7 separate regions of the Homo sapiens genome follow, and regions 1, 2, 3, 5, 6 and 7 are each linked to region 4. The links are contacts of gene promoters, found by promoter capture Hi-C in blood cells and fetal thymus (Javierre and others, 2016). All regions are on one chromosome and are shown on one strand. The core of a region is centred on a gene start or on the middle of the fragment in contact, and the rest is flanking DNA. Distances in the headings are between cores, read along the strand shown.

The links. Contacts are between HindIII fragments. The CHiCAGO score rates a contact against its expected background, and 5 or more counts as called.
Region 1: a fragment that was not itself captured here is called in contact with the fragment with the promoter of NSUN2 in region 4 in 1 of 17 cell types (monocytes); the score reaches 7.8 in monocytes.
Region 2: a contact is called between a fragment that was not itself captured here and the fragment with the promoter of NSUN2 in region 4, in 1 of 17 cell types (non-activated CD4 T cells). The highest score is 6.8, in non-activated CD4 T cells.
Region 3: the fragment with the promoter of ADAMTS16 here is called in contact with the fragment with the promoter of NSUN2 in region 4 in 1 of 17 cell types (total CD8 T cells); the score reaches 5.1 in total CD8 T cells.
Region 5: a fragment that was not itself captured here is called in contact with the fragment with the promoter of NSUN2 in region 4 in 4 of 17 cell types (total CD4 T cells, total B cells, naive CD8 T cells and 1 more); the score reaches 11.0 in total CD4 T cells.
Region 6: a fragment that was not itself captured here is called in contact with the fragment with the promoter of NSUN2 in region 4 in 1 of 17 cell types (naive CD8 T cells); the score reaches 5.7 in naive CD8 T cells.
Region 7: a fragment that was not itself captured here is called in contact with the fragment with the promoter of NSUN2 in region 4 in 1 of 17 cell types (non-activated CD4 T cells); the score reaches 5.2 in non-activated CD4 T cells.

What each region holds. Positions count from the first base shown.
Region 1 is chr5:7,804,503-7,807,265 of GRCh38, reverse strand. It overlaps ADCY2 (adenylate cyclase 2), which reads right to left. Exons shown (of 25, transcript NM_020546.3): 22 at 2,574-2,681. Among named protein-coding and RNA genes, the nearest start is that of CFAP90, 45 kb to the left of the region's middle. The HindIII fragment of the contact is 7,785 bases long and covers 1-2,763 here.
Region 2 is chr5:7,886,111-7,888,810 of GRCh38, reverse strand. MTRR (5-methyltetrahydrofolate-homocysteine methyltransferase reductase) reads right to left here. Exons shown (of 15, transcript NM_002454.3): 8 at 2,108-2,196. Among named protein-coding and RNA genes, the nearest start is that of MTRR, 18 kb to the right of the region's middle. The HindIII fragment of the contact is 454 bases long and covers 1,160-1,613 here.
Region 3 is chr5:5,139,069-5,141,768 of GRCh38, reverse strand. It overlaps ADAMTS16 (ADAM metallopeptidase with thrombospondin type 1 motif 16), which reads right to left and starts at 1,439. Exons shown (of 23, transcript NM_139056.4): 1 at 1,230-1,439; 2 at 1,003-1,105. The coding sequence starts at 1,301. It overlaps ADAMTS16-DT (ADAMTS16 divergent transcript), which reads left to right and starts at 1,715. Exons shown (of 4, transcript NR_109915.1): 1 at 1,715-1,813. RefSeq lists an enhancer at 1,667-2,233. The HindIII fragment of the contact is 3,896 bases long and covers 1-2,700 here.
Region 4 is chr5:6,631,746-6,634,569 of GRCh38, reverse strand. NSUN2 (NOP2/Sun RNA methyltransferase 2) reads left to right here and starts at 1,526. Exons shown (of 19, transcript NM_017755.6): 1 at 1,526-1,686; 2 at 1,814-1,971; 3 at 2,593-2,697. The coding sequence starts at 1,591. SRD5A1 (steroid 5 alpha-reductase 1) reads right to left here and starts at 1,130. Exons shown (of 5, transcript NM_001047.4): 1 at 701-1,130. The coding sequence starts at 993. RefSeq lists enhancers at 407-918, 919-1,430 and a silencer at 894-1,283. The HindIII fragment of the contact is 4,632 bases long and covers 1-2,824 here.
Region 5 is chr5:5,429,895-5,432,839 of GRCh38, reverse strand. All of the region lies in intron 1 of ICE1 (interactor of little elongation complex ELL subunit 1), which reads right to left. Among named protein-coding and RNA genes, the nearest start is that of ICE1, 8.7 kb to the right of the region's middle. The HindIII fragment of the contact is 4,322 bases long and covers 1-2,945 here.
Region 6 is chr5:5,450,653-5,453,476 of GRCh38, reverse strand. The region is part of intron 10 of ICE1 (interactor of little elongation complex ELL subunit 1); the gene reads right to left. Among named protein-coding and RNA genes, the nearest start is that of ICE1, 29 kb to the right of the region's middle. The HindIII fragment of the contact is 2,759 bases long and covers 1-2,738 here.
Region 7 is chr5:7,842,603-7,845,302 of GRCh38, reverse strand. The region is part of intron 1 of CFAP90 (cilia and flagella associated protein 90); the gene reads left to right. Among named protein-coding and RNA genes, the nearest start is that of CFAP90, 7.2 kb to the left of the region's middle. The HindIII fragment of the contact is 1,457 bases long and covers 611-2,067 here.

The DNA of each region.
Region 1 (2,763 bases), core at 87-2,586, 1.2 Mb before region 4:
GAGAAAAGACCTGGAGACTTTTCTTGAACATCCAGAAGACTGGGTCTGATGGAGGCAGAGTTAGGGTCAGGAAGAACAGGCAGACACGCACCCTGGGCTGTAGAGTGACACTGATTGTGGAACAGGTCTTCATGTGGTGGTGCCTCGGAAGATCTCCCACTCCGAGGCCCTGCCAAAGTATTGTTAGTTGGCTGTCCAAGAGCAAAGGGCTGGAGTGGATGTGATCAGGTGAAGTGCTCCTGATGGCCCTCATTAGATGAGCTGGAGAAGCCTCCAAGTCATAACTGGATGAGGGTGAGGTAAGTGAGGCACTCACCTCAGGAGAGAAACTTCAGAAGGAGAAAGAAGCTCAGCAATCATGAGAAATAATATGCTAGTGCAATATTTTTAAAAATCAAAATCAATGCAGAAAAATTCAAGATGAACTAAAATAATGAAATTTTAAATAAAGATACTGCTGTGGACAGGATTGTGTCCTCCCTAAAATTTATATGTTGAAGTGCTAACCTCCCAGGTGACTGTACTGAAGACAGAGCTTTGTTAGGAGGTAATTATGGTCAACTAAGATGATAAGGGTGGAGCTCCGATCCAACGGAACTGGTGCCCTCTTTAAAGTGGAAGAGAAACCAGCTCTCTCTCTGTCTCTGTCTCTCTCTCTCTCTCCCCTCCATGGGAGGCCTAAGAGAAGTGAGAAGGCTGCTGTGTGCAAGACAGAAGAGGAGCCCTCAGCAGACACCTAATCAGCCAGCACCTCAGTCCTGAATTTCCCAGCCTTCAGAACTGTGAGAAATAAATTTCTGTCATTTAAGCCACCCAGCCTGTGGTATTCTGCCTGGCAGGCCAAGCAGACTAAGACACATAGGTCCTGACAGTGTTGTGCTGAGCATCTTAGAGCCTGAGGCAGTAAGAAAAATGCCTGTCTCTATACATGTCTTAATGTTATTTTTTTTTTAATGGTCAATGTTTTCCAGAACATTAAAGGCATTGGAGGAGCATATATTTGTTTCCATGAAAGCCAGGAAACTAAAATTGTAATTAGTTCTGGTTTGGGTTATAAATAGAATATTTAAAATTAAAAGAATGTTGTACATTTTAATATCTCGATTTTACATTTTTTCAATTTTTTTAACACTTTAATGTTCTGGAAAAAACCCTAACCATTAAAAATCTACAACACCATGCAGAGGATACAGCAGTTTTCCTTTGGCCACAGACTCCATGATGGCTTGAGAGGGTGTTGCTCAGAATTCAAAGGCAAGGTTCTTCTGGGGTTTCTTTTATGGCTTGTTTCTTTTATTTTCTTTATTACTGAAGTAATGCATACTCATTAAAAAATAATAATCTGAAGGCAACCACCTGAAGAGGAGAACCAATGGAATACATATCACTCCAATTAACTGGAAGAATGCTAGGGTTCCATCTTGAGTCAGACGTCTATCCATGTTCTACTCTTTGCCCATGAATGCATGAATGTTAAGCGGGAAACTAGGACCCTCTCATGATATTCCTGGAAGAGGGAGCTCTGTTATGGTGCCTGCTGCCTCTCTCCCCACTCTCACTCTTCCCATGGGAGGTGGTTATGGGAGAGGGGCTCATACATGGTACTCAACCCTTCTTCTCTTTGAGAACCTGCCTGTCCACAGAAAGTGTGTTCTGGTAAGTGCAGTTTCTCTGTGGTCTGCCCAGCAGAGGGCAGGCTCCACAGCAAAGGCCACTGTCCTGAGGGGAAAGGAGGTCTTTTTTACTAATATTCCAACAAGTTACACAAGCATGTCTACATACATGCTGTCTCTCTCTCTCTCTCTCTCACACACACACACACGAGAAAATCTCGAAAACCTTAGTTGATTGAAGATATTCAATTTTGCCCAAATGACCTTTTCAATGAAATTTCCATGTGGCCAACTTGTTTTTTGACCACATTATTTTATTTTAATTCATTTTTTAGATGCGGTGTCACTCTGTCACACGGGCTGGAGTGCAGTGGTGCGATCTCAGTTCACTGCAACCTCCACCTCCCAGGCTCAACCATCCTCCCATCTCAGCCTCTTGAGTAACAGGGACCACAAGTGCATGCTACCACACCTGGCTATTTTTTTTTTTTGTATTTTTGGTAAAGACGGGGTTTCACTATGTTGCCCAGGTTGGTCTCAAACTCCTGAGCTCAAGAGATCCACCCACCTCGGCCTCCCAAAGTGCTGGGATTACAGACGTGAGCCACCGCACACGGCCTTGACTATATTCTTTTAAATCAAAAGACCTGGATCCATTCTTACTGAGTCTCCTTCAAATAACTAGCTTTCATCTTCTACTTCATTGTGTATTTATCTGGTAACAAGCAGCTACTGATTGGTTTTTCTTCTCCTGTTGGCCAGCAGAAGGAGTTCTGTGAACAGATCCTCTGGCTCTAAGAAGTCTGGAATTTTCATCTTCTCTCATAGGACCTTGACCCTGAGCTTTAGGTTGTACAAAATATACAGTTCTTGGGGCATTTCATGGCTGTTTTGGTCCCAGGGTGGTTTGTGGATGGGGTTGAGGCTCACCTGTGCCGTTAAGTGGCCAACGCGTCTTACCTGGGAGTGCTCCTGGCTGGGCACAGCGCTCAGACCTGTTGCTGCCATGTATGTGCTGCCAATGGTCTTAATCTTTTCAACTCCACTGAATTTTGGCTTGGAAAGAAGCTGTGAAGCAATGACAACCGTCCAGTTACTCAGCTGGATGCTGACCTGAAGCTGAGCATTTTATAGAGACATTCTCAAATGC
Region 2 (2,700 bases), core at 137-2,636, 1.3 Mb before region 4:
TTTTTTATTTCAATGCAATTACAAGTTATTAATTACAGGCAGACATAGCTTATTTCTCAAGGGCTCTTTAGGAACAAAGCACTTCAGTAATTATCTGCATCAAATGTTATGTGAAATGCTAATGGGTACTGCTACTTTAAATTCCATGGCTCAAGATGATTGTGTCCTGGACTTCCTTAACAGGGAGGACAAAATCACTGTTCCCAAAGGAGTCACAGGTTTCCAAAGGTTTGGCTGAAGAATCTCTGTCTAAAATACCTGGACACTAACAAATTACACGTGTTCCTCCAAGTGCCAAACTCAGCATTGACCAAAAACAACGACTCAGGAAACACTGCTGAATGGACGCCCCAAATCTCTGCAAAGACTTTGGCAAGATAATAAAAACATCTACCAATAACAGTTTGTAAATTCTAAAGCCAATACAATCTCCTAAATTAAAAGCTAAAACAGTGACAATTTTTCCTTTAACATACTTTTTTCACTTTAGAACTACAAAAACTTTATGGTACTACAACAGGAAATACTGCACTGTTTTTGGAGAACAAGATGACAAACCTGACAAACATTACTACAATTTAAAATGTAAATATTTTTAAAACAGCAATTCTACTCCAAGGAATTTGTTTTACAAATATACTTCAAGTAAGTGTTCAAAAATTAATACAGTACAAGAAAGTTTGCCTTTTTTAATAGTGAAAAAGCAAAAATGACTCAATTGCCCATAATTACATCAACAAATAATGGTGTATCCATAGTATCCATTAAAACTCTTTCCATCCTGAAATATACAGATTCTTGATTTAAGTTAAAAAGGCAAGTTATGGAACAGCACATATAATATGGATACCCATATTTTCCTCAGGAAAACAAAATTCAAGTGTTAACTCAGAGGGTTTGATTATAAAATACTTTGGTTTCCTGGGTTATTTCTGTATCCAGAATTTTTCCAATGAGCATACTATTTTTGAAAAAACCCATATATATATATATATATATATATATATATATATATATGCACACACACACACACAAATATATACATACACACACATATATACACACACATATATATACACATATACAGACATACACACACACTTTACACAAATTTTAAAAGGGTAGAGCTGAACCAAAATTGTGACTTAATCGGTAAGCTTTCATTACAGTAAATTAATTCTAAATACTCAAATTACATCTCGAGCTGATTACCAGGAAAGGAAGATGGAATATATATATATATAAATCTATATATATATAAATATACATATATTTATTTAGAGAGCTGAGCCTCTCTCTAAAGTACTTTACTCACCCAAGACTAGAAATGCAATAAACACATTAATAAAACGACACGAAAACCACACTGGGGAGATGGCGGCCTAATTACAACACTCTTTATGCTCACTGACAATACAAGTGTGGCAAGGCACATTTGAAAAATTGTATCCATTAATGGCCACTTCCGGGAGCTGGTTAGAAGAAATCAGTTACAAGTAGTTTTAAAAAAACAGTTCCTGGTACAATACTGACATCTAGTGGATTATTCTACCTCCAAGTTCACATAATAATTGATTATTACCTACCAAAACCCTTCCATTTTTCCTGAAGCTTTCTGTTACAGCAATAAATAGTTATGTAGTATTACACAAAGTAGATCTTAACAACTGTAGGAAGTGGCAAGTGGTGGTTGGGGGGAATCCTACGCTCTCATTAGCTTTCTGTCACCAATTAAAGAAGGAGCAGCAATGTGTAGCTGGGTAACACAAGGTCAACTGCAGTCACCTCCATCACTGTGGAATGTGCTACGTAGTTAATAACTAGTAAAAGTAAGACAAAGAAAAAGCCCTATTTAGACTAAGAAAAAGCCCTATTTAAGCCCTCATTTCAATAGAAAACAAAAATTTAAATGCAAATACAACATAAAAAGATTCATAGATGATAGTTACGATGATAGCACACACCCTTGGGAACTAATATTAAAAACATGCTATCAAGATCACATTTTTTAAGACTGCAAAGGGCATATTCTAAATTTGTTTAATCAATCCTAAATAAAGCTAAGCATATTTTAAAATAGTTACCTGAAGAAGACAGAAAAAAATACCTTTTTAGGAATTGCTCGGATTTCAAGACACCAGGTAAAAATGAACTGGAGAGAACATCCCGCAGGTATATGCTGGGGTAAGGTAGCTCCTTTTCAGGTAAAGACGGGAAAGGGGTTCATGACATAGAAGATGAAGAATAAAATGTTTTACACACTCCCCAAAACACAATTACTGTAGTACTTTACAGCGCATCAAAGTGCAACATGACTTGTGGCAATGTTTATTCAGCCAAAAAAATTCCCCAAAATGAATACAGTAAAAAACTCCACCTTACAAAAACATAAGAAGACTATAAATTCAAGATAGGCCAAATAAAAGAAAGGAAAATTATTTAAAATTAAGGAAATGAAAGCTAAAAAGACAGCAGTACTCCATTAGCATTATTCTTCTCAAAAAATCAATTTAGGACTACTTCAAGATTCTAAGTAAATAATATATTTATATTTTGAAAAATAAATAACTTCTCTTAATTATGGAAAAAGCAATTATTTTATATAATAAATGAGCAAAAACAAACATACTATGAGAAGTAAACATAATAGGAAAAGAATTTTTAAAAATAACCTAGGCCAATGCTTCTCAAAAACTACAT
Region 3 (2,700 bases), core at 190-2,689, 1.5 Mb after region 4:
TCAAAAGTTAATGCATATATTAAGTGCTTGCCTTTATGTTATTTTATCAAATTGAAATAACTATACTGAGAAATTCTGAATTGTTAACTTTAATTTTCTAGATCTTCTGGAAATACATTGAGAGAATGAAACCTAGTTCTTCCTATAAAAGTCAATTAATATTAACATTTGATACGGCAATTTATTGTTGGTAACAATGCAAAATAATATTTATTAACTGTCATTGGATGGGTTCAGGTTAAAAAACCACCTAGCAACCAGTGCGACACACCTGCGTTCTCATTTACCTGATGCAGTATGAAGACACAGAGATCCCTTTCCATAAGACAGCAAATTTCCAAATGTCACTTGTAAGTGGCAGAAGTAAAAGCATGCATTGAAAAAGAATAAGACTTGCCCTCATGTCAAATTGTGGCCCAGGATATGAACGTTGCTGATGGTGTCACAATCAGCTGATTAGCCATTTCAGGCACTATTATGTTTGAAGTACGCCCTGATTGTTGGAGCATTAACTTTGGTATTGAGATGCTAAGCGCTTCTTTTATCTCCTTCACTGAGAATAAGCAACGATAGAGGAATATTTTAATCTATAAAGGAGGAGAAGGAGGAAAGGTTGGGGACGGGAAGGAGGATCCGAGGATGTAGAAGGGGACGGAAAAGAAAGTAATTTGCTCTTTATGACGGCTTTGATGCATACATTAATAGCTTTAGATTCTTCCTAAGCTCTTTAGAATAAAATAAAATGAACTTCCTCACCTTTTTCCTAATGTTATATCAATAACTCTGGCAAACCGTTTTGCCAGGGAATAAAATGTAAATATTGGTGGAAATCCACTCATCGGGGCTCGCTCATACAGTTAAAAAAAAAAAAAGTTCACAACAGCATCTTAAAAGTAGGGTTCCACAGAGTCGTGAACATTCACAGCACCTAATAAACCAGCGGCACGGAGATTACGAGCTGCTAAATGGCAAGGATTAGAAGCCCCCACCTCACGGACTTACCGCCCTTTTCCATCCAGCCCGGCCGCTCCGCGGGTGGAGGAGGACGCGGGACGCTCGGGCTCCCAGGCGCTGCCGCTGCGGGTCCCATGGCGCACGCAGGTGCCTGCGGAAAACAGCGGCGACATCGCGGTGAGACGGCGGGGTCCGCGGGAGAGGAGCCGCGGGGGACTCGCCTCCAGCTGTCCGGACCCGCGGTTTCCGCGCTGGTGGGAGCGCCCGGGACTCACCTGCTCGGCCACCTGCGCCAACAGCATCCACAGCGCCGCCAAGCCCCGCCATCCGCGCGCGCGGGGCTTCATCCAGGAGCGCTCCGAGGGGCTAGGGGCCACCGGAGGGTCCCCGGCCGGCAGCGTGCGAGCGGGCAGGGAGGACCCGACCCAGGCAGAGCGCGGGAGGATTCCCCACAGCGACTCCGCCGCCGCGCCGGGGTTATTACTGAAGCTCCGTGCGGCGCGGGGGGCGGAGTGGCAGCCGCGGCGGCGGGGGCGGCGGGAGCGGTGGGAGAGCGCGGGGCGGGCAGGGGAGAGAGGAGGGGAGGAGGTGAGGGCGGGGGGGTCAGAGGACCGAGGAGGGGAGAGTGCAGGGACAAAGAGCAGAGGGGAGGAGGCGAGGTCAGCGGGGCGCTGAGGCGGAGGCGAGCGGGGAGCAGAGGGAAGGCGGGAGACAGCGGGCAGCGCCAGAGGAGGAGGACGCGGGAAGATGGAGCTGCCCACGGCCTGCAGTCCGTGCCTCTCTGCCCGCGCGGGGACCACACAGTTGGAGAGGCTGCCGGGCACCGGCGCGGGCGATGCTCAGCATGGACCTCCGGCCGGTGCGCGCTCCTGCCCTGCCTTGGGGCTGGGGACTCGGCGGGACTCCAGCTACTGCAGTGGCTCCGCGGGCTCCCACCTCCGGGCCGCACCGGCGCCGCCAGAGGCCGGGACACCTGCAGCCCGCGGAGTGCGGTCTGGCCGCGCCTCTGTGCCCGGGCACAGCTGTGGGGACACTGGGTGCGGAAAACCGGGCGCCAGGACGTGGGAGAGCCGCGGACCTGCCTTTAAAGGCGCGTGCCTCGCTCTGGAGTTTGCGGAGCGATCGGAGACGGGGAGGCTGAGGAGGAAACTCTTCCCCCGCGCCATTTGCCCCGAGATGTGGCGGCGCTCCTGGCCCCGCGGTCACGGCCACCCTCAACTGGCCAGGCCGCGGAGGCCGGTGACTGGCTGCTGGGTGCAATCCCTAGGGAGGTCTCAGGGCTGCGGATGGGCCTGGGTCTCGGCCGCCACGGGGGTCGATCGGGCTACTGTGTGGACAGGGTGGCCAAGGAGGCAGCAGGTGTGCGGTCAACAGCCTGGCCAGAATTCTGCTGTAGCTGGATGGGGTGTGTGAGCGCGCGGGTGTACATGTGCCTGGGTGTGCGCGGGTGTACATCCACACCTGACTGCGTGTGCGCGAGTACACGCTGTGAGCCCATAGTGTGTCTGGAATTGGTGGGTTCTTGGTCTCACTGACTTCAAGAATGAAGCCGCATACCCTCGCGGTGAGTGGGTACAGCTCTTAAGGTGGTGCGTCTGGAGTTTGTTACTTCTGATGTTCAGATGTGTTCGGAGTTTCTTCCTTCTGGTGGGTTCGTGGTCTCGCTGGCTCAGGATTGAAGCTGCAGACCTAGGCGGTGAGTGTTACAGCTCTTAAGGCAGAGCCTCTGGAGTTGTTCGTTCTTCC
Region 4 (2,824 bases), core at 277-2,776:
TTCCAGTTGCAGCTGATCACTTGGCTGGGAGAAAACAGCTCCACCATCACCAAAGATACCAAAAGGGGAACCGGCAGAAAGGAGTAGAAACCAGTGGCCCTCAAGACCGACCATCAGCATTAGACTCTAGGCCAACCCCCTCCCCCCCGCCCCCACAGTCGTGATCTAAGGGAACAAAATCTAGTCTTCATTTTTATTTTACATTTTTACTTTTTAACTCTTTATTTTTATATATTTAATTTTGAGACAGAGTCTCGCTCTGTCACCCAGGCTGGAGGGCAGTGGCGAGATCTCGGCTCACTGTAACCTCCGCCTCTCGGGTTCAAGCGATTCTTCCATCTCAGACTCCCGAGTAACTGGGATCACAGACAGGCGCCACCGCGCCCGGCTAAGGAAACCAAACCTAGGACCACTGAGTGGCTCTTTCCAGATCAGTTTCATCATGTTTTTTTCCATCACTCCCTTCCAGTCCTTTGTTTCCCGCCCTTTCCAGACGAATCCCTTCTGGTTTCCAAACTCCCGGGGCCGGGGGACTCGGGGAAGGGCACCCGTGCAGATGGGGGACGCCCCGGGGGATCTGGCAGGGAGAGGGCATCTGGGTGGGGGAGGCTTCGGGGAGAGGGCACCGGGCAGTGAGGGGAGGGTCGGAGAGGACGCCGGGCCGGGAGTAGGGTAGGGGGCCGGGGGCCGGGGACGTTACCGATGCCCGTAGTGGACGAGGAACATGGCCAGGAGGATGCAGTTGGGCGCGCTGCGGAGACGCGGGGCGGACTCGCTGGCGTACTGGTAGAGCGGCAGGGCCAGCGAGGGCAGCTCCTGCACCACCCAGGCGGCCCGCGCCGGCACTCGGAGCCTGTGGCTGGGCAGCGCGTGGCGGCCGTACACTGAGTTCGTCTGACGATTGCGCGCGAAGACCGCGCAGCCCACGGCGCACTGCAGGTAGGCGAGCGCGGCCAGCAGGCGCTCCTCCGCCACCCCCGTCGCCGTTGCCATCGCCAGGGCTGGGCAGCGTGCTCCATGCCCCAGAGGCCGCGGCGGGCAACATATAGGGCGGCGGCGCGGGGGCAGGAGGGGCGGCTACCGGAGGGGCGGCTACCGGAGTCCCGCACTGCCGGGACTCTGCAGAAAGGGTTCTCAAGTCAGGCTTCTCCGGGGTAGCCGGGGCTGTGGGTGCGGCCCCGGGGGCGGGGCGAGCACTTGCGCGGGGAGGGACCTGCAAGCGCCCCACCCACGCCGGGGCCGCAGTAACCCCGCGCCGCTCTGCGCACGCGCGGCTTCAGGCTGTCCGCGGAGCTCCTTGAGCCCGCGTGGGAAACCTGGGCGCTTCGCGCGGAGACGCCTTTGTGGCTGCTTCCTGGAGCATTTTTTTCCCCTTAGAGCTGTTCGCTGTTTTCCCTGTCACGCCGCTTTTCTGAAAGACGGGTTGTGCGCTTTGGGCTTATTCCTGGACGGTCCCCAAAGGTCCCCGAAAGGACCAGGCCCGGACACGTGGGGCCTTGGTTTCCGGCCGGAAGTCCCGGGAGGTGTAGGGCTAGAGTTCTGGCCGTGGCGGGCCGGTTTCTGCGTGCTGCGTGCGCGGCCGCGTGGGCTATGGGGCGGCGGTCGCGGGGTCGGCGGCTCCAGCAACAGCAGCGGCCGGAGGACGCGGAGGATGGCGCCGAGGGTGGTGGAAAGCGCGGCGAGGCGGTAGGAGCCGGGACCCGGCGGGCGGGCCAGGGGCTCCTCCTGGGCTTCCCGGACCCCGAGGCCTGCGAGGCGGCGGCGAGGGGGCGGCTCCTTGGGCCTCGGGGTAGACGTCTCTTTCCTTCCTCAGGGCTGGGAAGGAGGCTACCCCGAGATCGTCAAGGAGAACAAGCTGTTCGAGCACTACTACCAGGAGCTCAAGATCGTGCCCGAGGGCGAGTGGGGCCAGTTCATGGACGCTCTCAGGGAGCCGCTCCCGGCCACTTTAAGAATTACTGGTTACAAAAGGTAGGGAGGCAGTGCCTGATTTTTTGGGAGTTGGGGCCAGGATGCTGGAGGTTAAAGGCGACGGTGTTTTCTTCGACAAGTGTTACAGTGCCAGAGAACCGTGGCGTTTCAGCGGTTTGGATTCAGGAAGCATTGAGGTGGGGAGCACAGGGTCCAATGAAATGGTCACGGAGGTATTGCAGGCGCAAGGTTAGAAGACGAAATGAAAATGAGATCTGAGGAAGATTCGGCTCCTGGGGAATCTTCCAGGAGGGAAGCTGAGGGTCTTACCTTTTGGAACGTAAGAGAATTTATAGAGAATGCATAAAACCCCTTGGTTCTCCCCTCCTCCGCGCCCCCCCTCCATCTTTGTAGTTACATCTTTCTAAATGAGTCGCAAGTAAAACTTAACGGTAGGATATGCTTAGGAGAGAAGGAATGCAGTGTTGCTCTTAGGGCTCAAACAGTGTGGATTGCTTAAATTTTGAAGGCATACAGTGTAAAAGTAGTGACTAAAGAATGTTTACTCTCCATGCAAAAGTTGGTTTTAGTTTTAAAACACTTGCAGTCTTAAATTTAAGAAGATACAATGTATTAACTTAGTTTTTTAGATCAGTTTGAAACTTCCTTATTTTTCAATAGCCACGCAAAAGAGATTCTCCATTGCTTAAAGAACAAATATTTTAAGGAATTGGAGGACCTGGAGGTGGACGGTCAGAAAGTTGAAGTTCCACAGCCACTGAGTTGGTAGGTACCACAGTGCTTCATGCCGAATATTTATTTGGGATATTAATCTCTATCACTTGAATTATATTTCTTGGTACTGCATTTGCTGTTAAAGAGCTTGGGTATACTTTGCAAACATCCTAATGTT
Region 5 (2,945 bases), core at 359-2,858, 1.2 Mb after region 4:
AAAACTTAAAAAATGTTTATTAATAGGATGAGATAAATAATATTATATTTGCGAAACAAGTTATTTTTGAAAGGAATATTCAGAGCTCTTAAAATTGAAAAAACTTAAAAATTAAAAATGAACACTCTAGAATAACTAAAATTAAAAGACAGACAATAGCAAGTGTTGATGATGATGTGGAGAAACTGAATACATTCCTCATACATTGCTGGTGGGAATATAAAATGGGGCAGCTGCTGAGCAAACTAGTTTTGCAGTTCCTCAAAATGTTAAATAGTTACCCAACGATCCAACAGTCCCATTCCTAGGTATGAACTGAAAATAGAGTCCACGGCAAACTTACACACTGATATTTATAGCAGCACTATTTCAAACTAGCCAAAAAGTGAACATAAATTAAATGTCCATCAAAGGATGAACTGATTCACAAAATGTCACATATCCATACAACAGGAATTATTTGACAATGAAAATGAACGAATGATACATGCTACAACATGGACCAACCTTGAAACATTATGCTAAGTGAAAAAAGCCAGTTACAAAAGTCCACGTGTATTCTAGAGTCCATTCATATGAATTTTCCTTAACAGAGCCAAAAGTAATCCAGTGGCTGCCAGAGACTGGAGGAAGAGTACAGAGACAGGAAATGACTAGTAACTAGTATAGGGTTTCTTTGGGGAAGGTGGAGGATGAAAATGTTTTAGGACTATGTAGTGGTGATGTCTGCACAACTCTGTGAATTGAACTGAATTGTATACAATAAAAGGCAGAATTTTATATGTAAATTATATTTCAATAATGCTGTTATAGCTAACAAAGACTCAAAATATTTGACCATAAAGTTAAAAAAAAAGGATGCAGAAAATAAAAACCCAGACACGAGAAAGAAGGAAAATAAATAAAAACAAATAGGGTATCAACACAAGAGGCCCCACATACCCAACAATAAGAGTTCCACATAAAGAATAAGGCGAAGATGGAGACCTAATTAAAAAAAAAATACTGGTATTCAAGAAAAGTTCCCAGAAGCAAATCTAGAAATTTCTAATTGAAAGGGCCTGGAATATGGACTTCAATAGGATTCAAACCATGAAACAAGAACACAAAATTTCAGACCACTGGAGACAAAGCAAAGACCCTACCAGAATCCCAAGAGCAAAATAAAAGGCATCAAGTGATACACAAAGAATCGGGGATAGAATGGCTTCAGACTTCAACACCAACACGAAAAACTAGACCTAGAAAGCAAGCCTTCGAAATGGCAAAGGGCAAGTAATTCCAAGATAAAATTCTACACAATAAATATTTTCAAATCTGCAAAGTCTCTACAAACTTACTTCCCAGACATTCTTTCTCAGGGGGTACTGAAAGATGTGAACATGGTCCTTCGGAATGGAGATGGGGGTGAAGAGAGCCCTCAGAATGCTGCTGCGTACCAGATGACAGTAGGCCCCAAAGCTCGAAGGGAGAAGAAAATGAAAGACTGAAAACATTCGAGTATTTATACCAAACTGGCAGAGACTTGCAAGGGAATGCAGTTATTTTTGGACATGCATTTAAACTATTATTTTTTCTAAAATAAAAGTGATTCTTCCTCTTTTTTCTCCCATTCTCTTTTGAGTTCTTTGGTACCCTAGCTCATCTTTCCCATGCTTCTAGATGTCATTTTGAGTTGCCAAGTACTTAGGCAGAGACCCCGAAGAAACCTCAGGCTCCAGAGTCACAGAGTCAGATTCACATTCCTATTCCACCCCCACTTTCTGCTAAGTGACCTTGGGCAAATTTATTTAACCTCTCCCCTGCCTCGAAACTATTTCATCAGTTTTACAGATGGAGAAACTGAAGCAAAAAGAGTTTAAATAACTGGCATACTATCAGGATTAAATAAGATGCACCATATAAAGTGTTCAATCCAGTCCCTGGCATAGCAGTAAGCACTCACTAATATCTTCAGGATGAAAAATTGAATTAAAGATACAATCATTATCAGGGAAAACAAGAAACCATGCAGAAAACACCACAGCTTAGCTTCAAATAACAGTCCTAATAATGTCAACTTCAAATACTGATCTAACTGAAATCATAACTATACTGAACAAATGGAGAAAGAAGAGATATGCTTAGGCATGGTGGAGTATGGGGCAGTAAGAGAGCTGAATCCTCACCTCCCAAAGTCAGCAATGAGTCTACTATTTAACAACAGGAAAATTCATTGTAAAATACACAGTGGAAGCAATTAAAAATGGTTCTGTCTTGGAAAGCAGGGATGAGTGGGGCTGGGGGCTGCTGACTTGTTGTCTTAACAACTCTTGTATATCTGTCTAGCTGCCTTTTTATATTTAACTGTGATTAAACAAAAAACAAGATCACAAAACAGTATAATGAGAAAACAAAAGATTTCTCAGTTATCCGATAGCATTCTAGTCTCTGACTAACATTATTTCCCAAGGCCCTGCTGCATATCAGCTCAAATCTGGTCAGATACTGTATTATCTGTGGTCAGATATTGTAATACTCTGATAAAACATTTTTTTTTCCTCCAATCAGATTCAGATGTCATTTATGTTGGCTGAAACCAAGGCCTCTAAATAATGAACCTCGCAATTGTGAAAGTGAGCAGGGTGTGCCTGGGTGAAGGGCGATCAGGCTCCTCTGACCCACATTCATTCCTGCACAGGTCCAGCTGCTATGGAAGAAGTGAGGTTCAAGGTGTTCTTCCTCTCCAGGAGATACTAAGGGTTGTTTCCTCGATTATCGCTTTCTCTTAGCAGCCCTGCTCTCCTCTTCTAGAGCTTCTATTATATAGTCTATTGGAAAGTTCAGGCTTATTTTCAATTCTCTCCTCTTTTCTCTCATAACTACCATCTTTTCTTTGCCTTCTGGGTGATTTCTTAAGCTATACTAATTCACTAACACAATTCCCAGAGCAGCCCACTCTCTTA
Region 6 (2,824 bases), core at 110-2,609, 1.2 Mb after region 4:
CCCAAATGTCTCAGGGAATCACAGATTTTGTAAGAGATTAGCTCTACTTAAGCTGGCAGACTGCATCACTTCAAAAAATGAAGTCCACAGAAAGGGGCAGGACAACTGTGGAGGACAGTTCACGGGTAAGTGTGAAAGGCTGGACACTGCCAACTCTCCTGAGCCAAAACAACCTTCTGATTGCCACTGTGTGTGAGCCATATCCATTTTTCAGTTCCAAAATTCTGTGATCGAGTAGCTTATCTACATTGTGATATAACCTACCCAAAAGCCTGCTTCCAAATACTGTAATCCCCTTTGCTTAAATGACCTGACCAGGATCCCTGCTTATTACGTATACCCAAAGCAGCAAACAAGGAACCTTAAAAAAAAAGAAAAAAAGTTACTTTTCCATTCTTATGGAGGCTATCATCCAGAGCTATGCCTTTGTAACTGAGCATTCATTACTGCTAATCTGACCCAAAAAATAAATAAATAAAAGCACTCTATTCCCAACAAAGCAGAAAAACATCTTCAGCGTTAACTTCACACTTAGTTGTGAAGACAACACCTCCTTCAAGTGAATTGCACAACTTTCCCTGATCCTTTAAAATTCTGCCTTTATCAAACTCTAAGGCATGTATGAATATTTAAGGACTTACATATTTATTTATTTAATTTATTTTCTACTTCATTGCTTTGTCATTTTCTGTATCCATACCACACTTCTTTAATCAGGGTAGGTTACTGAATATCTGTTAGAGCGTAATCATTATTCAGTTTTCTCCTGTTGAAAAATTGTATTATTCTGAACATACACTTTTCCCTATAAACCATCTGCTTGTGCTCTTCCATAGAAAACATCTATGGGACTTTGAATATTTCTGTATATTTATAAATACATTTGGGGAAATTTTACATCTTTATGCTTTGAATCTTCTCATCCAGGAACATGTTTATGTACTCAGGTCTTCCTTAACGCTTTTAAGGAATGTTTCAGTTTTCCTCAGAAACACTGTATACTGCTTTCAGGTCTTTTCTTAGACATCTGCTGGTTCAGGTGCCACTTGAGAATGGGTTGTTCTTATTCCATTCCTTTTCTAACAGGTTAATAACGGTACAATGTATATGTTCATTGTATATGCCAGCACTTTACCAAGCTCTATTACTTCTAATTCCAACTCTGAGTCTTTTAAATTCTCTACATTAGTAGTATCATCTGAAATAATGACAATTTCAACTTTTCTTTATTAGTATTCACAGATCCTACTCTTCTGCATTTATTCTGTTGCACTGGTTCAGGCCTCCAGTACAAAAAAAAAAAAAAAAAAAAATGGAACAAACAAAAAGCATGCTTGCCTTGTTTTTGACAGTAATAACTATACTTTGAATGTTTCACCTTTCTCAAGTTAAAATTTTTTTTCCATTACCTCATCAATTTTTTGAAATTGGGACTACGTGCTGAATTGAGATGATCACAACATTCTCTGACCCAGCTGTAGTATTCCTGAGATAAATCTTCAAGCATAATTTGTCTGTACTCTAAATTTGTGGATTTAATTTCTTAAAATTTTATTTGGTATTTTTGCAGCTATATTAACAACACAAGAGTCCTGAATCTTGAGAACATGTGTGCATGCTATTTGATTTTGGTACAGCATTATGCTAGCCTAAGAGAATAAAATGGAAACATTCCTTATTTTCTAAGTTCTGAAACAAAAAAATTAATAACAGAGACACTAGTTTTTCACTGAACGTTTACAAAGCTCACCTATAAATTATCCGGATTTATTATGGTGTTAGATCTTTAACTATTGTTAAAAATTTCTTCCTATTTTTTGTTCAGGTTTGTAGCAATTGTTCTGAGTCAATTTGAGCATGTTTTCCTTGAAAATGGACCATTCTACTTACATTTTCACATCTGAATATGAACTTGTGAATTATGAAATTTCTTGACTGTAGTTTTACCTGTTTCTCAATCCTGGTGCTGTTTTTCCTTCTGTTTGTTTGTTTAATCAAAGTTTACCAAAGAGTTGTTGGTTTCACTAGCATTACAAAGAACCAGCTATCAGATTTAATTGTCCTAAATCAATTGCTTTGTTTCCTATTTCATTAAGTTTGCATTTTCATCAATTTTTTCTTTCAGTTAAACACTTCATTCTCCGTATTTATTTCTAAAGTGACAATGTATCACGTAAGGCCTTAACATATTCCTTTGAATAGTGAAGGAATTGGCTATATCTTAAAGATTTTAATAAATATTGCCCTACTGTTTACTTTCAAAACAGTTTAGTATTTCAATTCTTATTTTCTCTGTTACCAAAGAGAGGTTTTTTGTGTGTCTTATGTGAGTTTAGTTATTAGGTAAGTTTTGCAGGTTTTGTTTTTGCAGAGGGAGGGGGATTTTTATTAAAAGCTCATATTAAATTGTAGGTATTTTTTATTGTTCACTTACTAGTCAACTTTTATACATTTGAAAAGTATTTTAACAAACTCCAGGTGTGTGGTTTACAAACAGTTGTATATAAATTATCCATTTGGAACTGTGATTCCAATTCCATCCCTTGTCTGCTTTTGCTCTCTCTTTCTAAAAAACATTGTGAAGTCTCTCACGACGAAAATAGATTTGGCCAGTCCCCCTAGATTTCCAAGAGTATTGCTTGACATCGTTTCACACTCTTAGGTACATACTAGCAGTATCTTCATGGCAAACTATACTTTTAATCAACATTTCAATAATGTAAATTCATTTCTAAGCTTTTATTATTTTTTACCTTACATGACTGCTTTAATGTCAGCATTGCTTGGAATATTTTTATCCATCCCTCTAATATTCAGTCTGTTT
Region 7 (2,700 bases), core at 90-2,589, 1.2 Mb before region 4:
ATGGTTTAGCAATAAGTCCCCACCCAAATCTCATCTCCAATTGTAACCCCCACATGTTGATGCAGGGACCTGGTGGGAGGTGATTGGATCATGGGGGCAGTTTCCCCCTTGCTGTTCTCATGATAGTAAGTGAGTCCTCAGGAGATCTGATGGTTTAAAAGTGGCACTTCCCTCTTTGCTCTCTCTCTGTCTCTCCTGCCAGCAGGTGAAGAAGGTCTTTGCTTCCCCTTTGCTTTCTGCCATGATTGTAAGTTTCCTGAGGCCTCCCCAGCCATGTGGAACTGTGAGTCAATCAAACCTTTTTTTCTTTATAAATTACCCAGTCCTAGGCAGTTCTTTATAGCAGTGCAAAAATGGACTAATACACATGCTAACTGTCCAGAGGCACAAAGGGGAATCTCTGAAGGACCTGACAGTATGCAGACAGTGCTCAATATGAGCCTCCCCAGGTCCTCCCTCTATGGGTCCTGTCTGCTTAGGAACCAAGCACCTTTACCACACACACTCAGCCACTCCAAGGGGGCTGTGTGGGGAAGGTGAACTCAGTTCTGTTGCTGATCTGCCTGTCATTATCTAGGCAACTCCCCATTATCCAGCAGACTCATAAGCTTACATGCCTTTCCAAAAGAATTTGTACTGGCCCAGTGAAATTATGACCTCTCTGCATGGATACCTCTTTCCTTCTCCCTGCCTATTTTTCTCCTTTTGCCTATTAGTATCTAACCTGCTAAGTATTTTCCTTAGTTATCTTGTTGTTTTCTCCCACTAAATGTGAGCTTTGTGAGGACAATGATTTACCTTTATCACAGCTATGTCTTCAGCAATCAAAAGAGTGCCTGTCTCATAGTTGGAACTCCATAAATACCTGTTGCATGAACAAATGAGGAATGAATAATCGGAAAGCCAATTTTTAAAACAAAGGGATAAGTCACCGACTTACAAAATTTGCTTCTTAAGAGTAACTTGGGGGTTTCGGTTTGGATTATCTGCTGCTTTGCTTATCCCTGTCCTCGTTCTCCTCCTCTGGTATCGTCAATGGCAGTGGGCTATAGTTTCTTCTCTACTTCTCTAGTTGCATTTTCACTCTCCAGTGACCTGCCCCTGGAAAACTCAGGGCTTGGGGGAATGGGGCTGAATATCTTCCTCCAGGGCAGGTAGCTCCTTAAAAAGGGGTTGGTCGGGGGGCTGAGCCCAAGGCCCAGTTTCCCTTGCAAACCCATTTATGAGAGAGGAATGAGTGAAAGGGGAGGCAGGCATGTTCTAGTGGAGACCTTTCACATGGTACGAAACACCGAGAGTGAGGAATCCATGTTCCAATGAATCAAAACTCCTGTGTGAGCATGTGCTCTGTGTCTTTTCATTGAGTGCATGTTTGTCGAGATACGTATCTAATGTTTTTTATACAAGAACATATTCACACACAGATCACACAAATATGGACACATATATTGCAGCTTGCCCTTTTCATTTAATAACATATCTTAGTTTTTCAAAATCACCCCGTTTTAAGGGGTACAAGCAAATGACACAAGAAAAGAGACAACATTTTTCCCAATAACTTTGACCAAGAGGAACATATAAGATTGAATTCGAGTTTCAGCCCCTGTGGATCGCTGTTTCTTCCTGAGTTGTGAATTGCTGGGCTGGGGGTGAGGGGTGAGTAGGGAGCTGGTATCAGTGGAAGAGGAAAAACAATTGACTCCACAATCACCAAGTTTCCAACTGGTGACAAGTTGAGCACATAGATGAATGTAGAACTCTCTGAATCAGAACACTCTTAGAATTTGACACAGACACAAGATCAGAGGGAGGAATTATCTTGACTTCAGTCTGATGGTAAAATATCCAGATTATTTGAAAATTTATAAGAATTTCTAAAACTTGTGATATTAATGTACCAGGAGAGGACATAGAATCTTTTCCACAGGAAAAATCAAAAACCCAAAGAGAATAGTTGAGTATTGTCTTTTCAAAAAAACCTAACATTGTGTCCTTCGCAAGCAACAGTCCTCTGAGATACAGAATTTTGAATGCTGTTAAAATGAATAAAAATGTCCTCATTAAGCTTCACACAATACCAAACCTCCAAGGAGATGCTCTGGATTTATTAGAAGTAAATTGAGGCCCTGATGAATCAAAGGAAACTGTTTTGGATCACCTTGGGGGTTTTCAGTTTTAAAATTAGGTTGTTTATCCCTGGACAAGCAAACTCACGGAAAGCCTCAAGATGAGGAGGTCATAGTGCTGTGGCTTCTGAGGACAGGAAATGAGGTAGCCCACTCATAGGTTGATTAGCATATTAGACAAGGTGGGCTAGGATGTGCTATGGAAACACACCCTAAACCCAAAAAGTCTTAACCGCCGGTGTGCTGGAGCTGGCTTGTATGACTCACAAAAGCCAACTGTTAGCATTTCTTCTAAGCTCTGCATTTAACTGGTAGCCTAAAATTGACCATGACCGAAGTATTTACACCACAGAAATCATCAAATACTACAAATCAGATTTTTTTCTCTCCAGAAAGTGGGTTGTTAAACATAGGTGCACCAACGGGCTTAACATAATAACCATGACATCATAGAGGCTTATTTTTTTCTCATTCATAGCCCAGCATTTATGTTTCTCCAGGGAGGCTCTTGGTGCAATTGCTTGGAAATCCAAGTGCCTTCTTTTTCATGGTTTCACTATTACTAGGGCCTAGG